Linked DNA regions of Homo sapiens: region 1 is linked to region 2. The links are contacts of gene promoters, found by promoter capture Hi-C in blood cells and fetal thymus (Javierre and others, 2016). All regions are on one chromosome and are shown on one strand. The core of a region is centred on a gene start or on the middle of the fragment in contact, and the rest is flanking DNA. Distances in the headings are between cores, read along the strand shown.

Region 1 (2,921 bases), core at 356-2,855, 940 kb after region 2:
GTTACATTTAGGGAAGTCAAAAATTATGGGTGAATTTTCAACTGCCGGGTGGGGGTTGGCACCTGTTCAAGGGTCAACTGTGTGCATGTGTATGTGTGTACAGATGTATACATGTGCATACACACACACATATACATACTGAATACACACACACTCACACTCTCAGTGGCTTTCTTTTGTACTAAGAATTCAAAGCACTTTTCCCAGCTGTGAAGCTTCTGCATGAGCTGACACTGCCTATGTCCCCAAATTCAGCTGTGCCATTTACCAGGCACATGGGTCTTTTTTCAGTTCTTCAGGCATGTGGAGCTCTTTCTCACCTTAAAGCAATTTGCTTCCTCTGCCAGGAATATACATGACTTGCTTTCCATATCTGGCTCAGATGAAATACTACAGAAGCCTTTCCTGCCTATTTTATCTGAGTAGGTACTACCTGCCCCCAATCAGCCCCTGGTTTGATTCATTACTAGCAATTATCATTATGAATTATTTATTAGTGCATTGTCTGTGAACCTCACCAAAGTGTAAGCTGCCTCAAAGGTGGCATCTTGTCCATTCTACCCATGTCTGGATTCTCCAGCCCAGCCCAGTGCGTGCCTCATAATGGGTTCTCTTTTTTTTTTTTTTTTGAGACAGAGTCTCGCTCTGTTGCCCAGGCTGGAGTGCAGTGGTGTGATCTCGGCTCACTGCAAGCTCCAACTCCTGGGTTCAAGTGATTCTTGTGTTCAGCCTCCCAAGTAGCTGGGACTACAGGCATGTGCCACCGCGCCCAGCTAATTTTTATATTTTTAGTAGAGACGGCATTTCACCATGTTGGCCAGGCTGGTCTCGAACTCCTGACCTCAAGTGATCCACCTGCCTTGGCCCCCCAAAGTGCTGGGATTACAGGTGTGAGCCACTGGGCCAGGCCTTCATAATGGGTTCTTAATAAACATTTGTTAAAAGCATTGGTTCATCACATATTAGTAATTTTCATCTTTACTTATTCCTTATGATTTTTTGTTTGTTTAATATAGGTTATACCTTTTGATATCCTATAGAGGAGTCCAGCGTGTTGGATCTCTTGGGTCCTCCTGTAGATTATTTTTAGAGTCTTCTAAAGTCTTCTAAATCATTGAGATGAAGTCTCTTTCCTATTTTCTGTAGCTTTACAAAAAACTACCTCCCAGACCCCGCCCCGCCCCATAGAGTTTTTCCTCCCTTATTTACTCATCCTTAAAGGAAGTGACATCTGTAGAGAGCCAGTGCTTGTTAAGAGCGAGGGTGAGCTCATCATCGAGGTCCGGTCCTCCTGTGTGGAGTCCTATCCTGGTGCTCTCGGGGTAGGACAGGTGGGCAGTGCCTGCTCCCAGCCTGTTCCTGATTCCTCACAGTTGCCTACGGAAGCTCTATTTCCCCAAACTTCTAACTTTTCCTGCCTTATCTGATTGTTCTCTGGTATTGTATTCTGAGTCCAAGGAGGGCACGAGAAACTAGTTTCTAACATGCTGCTAAGCGTGTTTCTTTCCTACTCTTCTCTTACTAAGACTGCTTTACTCGTGCGCATTGTTTTTCCTAAAATGCGATGAGCCAGCAGCAGTTTCTTCTACTTTCCGCACAGGTGATTTTTCTTTGCTTGCTTTTTAAGCTCCTTTCTCTGAATGAATATAGATTAAAAGAGGGATGGGACGAGGGGTGGACAGCACTAAGGGTAACTGCATAGCAGCAAGAATGACTCACGTCTGTGTTGCTGGTAGTTTCTGAGTTCAGGTCCTGGGTGCTGGGAGGAGACAGCTGCCTGCAGAGTGGTGAGAAATTCTTCCAATCTTTTTTAGATGCTTCCCTTTTCTGAAGTAAAGCCTGAATATGCCATTAAGAGAAGCTGTGGTAGGTTTTCCTCCCACCTAGTTCCATCTGCCGTGTGGTTAATGAAACATCTTTCCATATTTTCCATGTGGTTATTCATCAAGCCTAGTTTTGGGGATGGTGTGAGTTTTGTTTTGTTTTGTTTTGTTTTCTGGAGGGTGAGAAAAGTTGCATTTTAGGGTTGCTGATAAGATCTAATTAAAACCCATTTTTAAAATATTAGACACTGAGAGAATTTTCCTCAGAATAGCATAATAATGGCCATTAAATATGTGCTTCCCCCACCCTTAATCAGCTCTATACTAGGAATTAGCACTAAAAATATTAGAAGAGAGATGTTATATTTACATATTTGGTTGAGACTAAAGAACTTCTTCCTCTTAGCTGCAATAGACTCTTATTTTACTCTGGCTTTCTCTCCCAATTAAGCTAGGAACAATAACTATTGTCTATTTCCCTTCAATTTCAATCCACCGTTTCTTTTTTATTTTCAGCTATACGTGAACAGATATGGGCTAGGGAAACATAAAAATTAAATAACTTGAGTGGGTCAATAAAAAGGTTATTCTGTTTCTTTCAGGGTTTTTGAGGATTATAATGAATAAAACAGAACCAGAGAAGTTACGAAGCATGTGTTTATCACTCAGCAATAGAGAATTTTAAACAAGTACTTTAAATCATTATTATATATAAAATACATTTATTATATTACTGTACATATAAATATAATAATATATTTAATAGGTGTTTTAAATATAATTTGAGCTTTCAAGCATGTGTTTATCACTCAACAGAAAGAATTTTAAATATATAATGTAAACAATGCTATATAAATACAATAAATATGTATTTTATATACCTAAAAATATTTAAATATGTACTATATATAATTTTATATTAAAACATTAAAAATGTTTTATATTCTATTTATATGGTGTATATTAAATATGTACTGTATATGTTTAAAATATATTTAAAATTCTGTTGCTGATAATACACATTTTTTAACTTGTGTTTTTGTTTTAAGTATACATACATATATACATGATGTATTATCATATGTATATATATGTCAC
Region 2 (2,725 bases), core at 161-2,660:
AAAGGATTATGAGAAGGAATGTGGAAGAAAGATGGGGCAGTGGGTTTGGCACTGAAGAAGAGAAGCGCTCATTTAAAACACTGTTCTTTCCTACATTCCCTAACCCCCGCCCTAGTGTCCCACAGCGCGCTGAGGATGGCTTTCCTTTTGTTGCAAACCAGTGATTTCTGGCATCCCCCTTCCAAATCACAGAAGCCAGCGGGGACTGCACAACTATAATACGTATCCGCATGGTGGAAGGCAGGATAGGGTGGTGGGAAGGGTACGCGGGCTTGGGGGTGAGGCGCTGGGCCAGGGACCGAAGCAAGTTTCCTCATCGGCAAACGGTCATAAAGTTGCCTCCCACCGAGAACGGCCAGAAGAACCAAGCGGATCGCCAGGACCGTGCGCAGAGCCTGCACGTAGCGAACGCTGTGATTCCCTTCTTCCCCTCCCACGGCAAGCGACACCGAAGGTCTGGGGACACCCTTAGGGTTGTGACTGAGGATGGTTGTCGAGTGACTACAGAGCCCAGTAAATAACGCGCATCTCCTCCAGCACCGCGGAGCGCGGAGCCCGGAGCCCGGAGCCCGCCGCGCGCGGGCGCCGGGGAACGCTCGCGTCCACGGCCGGGCCCGCAGCCCAGCCCCCTGGCTCCCGGCTTCCCGCTTCGACAAGGGCATGCCGCGGCCCCCCGGAGCTCGGGGCGCGGGAGCTGGCACCGGAAGCGGGGAGGGCCGGCGGAGCTGGGCGGCCAGGAGTCGGGTACTTACCCCCGGCGGGCGGCGGGCGGCTGAGGTCGCGGCCAGCCGGCTCCAGGCGGCGGCGAAGTCGGGCGGCTGGGCGCGCGGGCTCCGGCAGACGAGGGCAAACAGGATCCCCAGCAGGAAGGCGGCCGCCGCGCAGCTCAGGTACAGGCTGAGCCTGAACAGGACGGAGCTCAGCCCCGCGGCCCCCGCCGCCTCCCCGCTGCCGGGCCCCAGGAAGGAGAGGGCCACGGCGGCGAGTGCGGCCACCGCCACGGGCTTCCACCAGCTCCGGCCGCCCGGGGCCCCCGGCGCCGCCGCTGCTGCTGCCTCCGCGTCCCCCGGGGACTCCGGCCGCCGCTCGCCCCTGAAGCCCGAGACAGGACGGCCGCCGGCGCCTGCGGCCCGCGCGGGGCTGGGGCCGGCGCCGCCACTGTCGGTCGCATCGGGGTGCATGCTGCTTCCTGGGCCGCTAAGGACAGGCACATCTCCTGCCCCCCGGTCCCCCGCCGGCGCTCCGGAGGCAGGGGGAGCCCGCGCTCATGCCTCGCCCGCGGCCCACCGAGGGAGCGGCCCCCGCAGACGCCGCCGGGCCCCTCTCGGCGACCCCTCAGCGCCGCCACCAGGCGCTGGGCCCGTAGCTGCCGGGCCGGGCGCAGCCAGGGAGCCCCACCGTGTTGTGACTGAAGCCTGGCCAGCCTGACGCGGGCGGGGCGGGGCCGCCCTGAAGTGCGTGTCGGGCGGGGCCCGGAGCCACCGCGGCCGCTGAGTGACAGCCGGGAGGCGCCCACCCACAGCGCGGGGGCGGGGTCCGGGCCGGGGCCCCACGGGGAGAGGGCGCGACCCAGCGCGGTGCACACCTCTCTTTCCCACGCTCCCCTCCTCCTCTACAGGATGCCGTCTGTTCATGGAAAATTTTGCTGCAGGTGTCAGCGGCGCTGGTAATTCCTGAGCTCAGGTGATCCCGTAATTCTCCCTCTCCGCTCATCACTGACGAGTAACCTCTTCGCTTTGCTTACAGCCGGCAAACATTTCTGCCTGGTTTTCACTCGCTATTTAAATAGGCAACCGTTCCCGAGACTCCCTGTCACAGTTTCTAACGACCTTCCCTTTCCCACCCTGCCGCCTTAGGGAAGGAATCAGACACGTGCGGTGGAGTAAGTGAAGCCTGCAATTCCTAGCTATGGAAAGGTCCAAAGAAGTCGGCCTGGTGCAACAGGGTGCACGCAGCTGCCCATAATCACTTTGGCTCCACTTCTGGTTTTTGTTTTGTTTTGTTTTGTTTTTTGTTTTTTACCAACTATTCAGTTCAAATGCTATCAGCCACGCAAAGGAACGTGGTCCAAATAATTTTTAGAGTATATATTTGCCTTTTCTTCTGTCATAGTCCCAGCCAGTAATATACAGATAACGCTTGCTAAGTAGATGCCAATATGCTACTTAAACACTGGCAATTACTGCTAAGACTAATAAAGAAGCAGATGTAGCTTTTGCTTTTAGTATCAATTGGTATTCATGGGCATTTCATTCTTTCTTTCTTTCTTTTTTTCTTTTTTTTTGAGACGGAGTCTCTGTTGCCCAGGCTGGAGTGCAGTGGGGCGATCTCGGCTCACTGCAATCTCTGCTTCCTGGGTTCAAGCCATTCTCCTGGCTCAGCCTCCCGAGTAGCTGGGATTACAGGCACGCACCACCACACCTAGCAAATTTTTGTATTTTTAGTAGAGACGGGGTTTCACCATATTAGCCAGGATGGTCTCAATCTCCTGACCTCGTGATCCGCCTGCCTCAGCCTCCCAAAGTGCTGGGATTATAGGTGTAAGCCACCGCGCCCGGCCTCATTTCATTCTTTCTTAAACCTTCTAAGTCAGAAATGAAGAGTGCCTCATGCTAGATGTGACTTTGCCATGCCAAGGGGATGATCAAAATAAGTTACCAGTTTCCTTTCTCCTCCTTTTTTAAGAAAATAGGGGCGGGCACGGTGGCTCACGCCTGTAATCCCT

The links. Contacts are between HindIII fragments. The CHiCAGO score rates a contact against its expected background, and 5 or more counts as called.
Region 1: a contact is called between a fragment that was not itself captured here and the fragment with the promoter of SNX25 in region 2, in 1 of 17 cell types (activated CD4 T cells). The highest score is 5.4, in activated CD4 T cells.

What each region holds. Positions count from the first base shown.
Region 1 is chr4:184,264,589-184,267,509 of GRCh38, reverse strand. It overlaps LOC105377582 (a long non-coding RNA gene), which reads left to right. Exons shown (of 6, transcript XR_939552.3): 5 at 2,426-2,512. It overlaps LOC105377584 (a long non-coding RNA gene), which reads right to left and starts at 1,864. Exons shown (of 2, transcript XR_007058414.1): 1 at 1,720-1,864. RefSeq lists enhancers at 1,608-1,687, 2,866-2,921. The HindIII fragment of the contact is 2,775 bases long and covers 218-2,921 here.
Region 2 is chr4:185,208,283-185,211,007 of GRCh38, reverse strand. SNX25 (sorting nexin 25) reads right to left here and starts at 1,410. Exons shown (of 19, transcript NM_001378034.2): 1 at 753-1,410. The coding sequence starts at 1,181. It also overlaps a transcript of CFAP97 not described here. RefSeq lists silencers at 602-791, 862-1,021, 1,132-1,711. The HindIII fragment of the contact is 7,757 bases long and covers 1-2,725 here.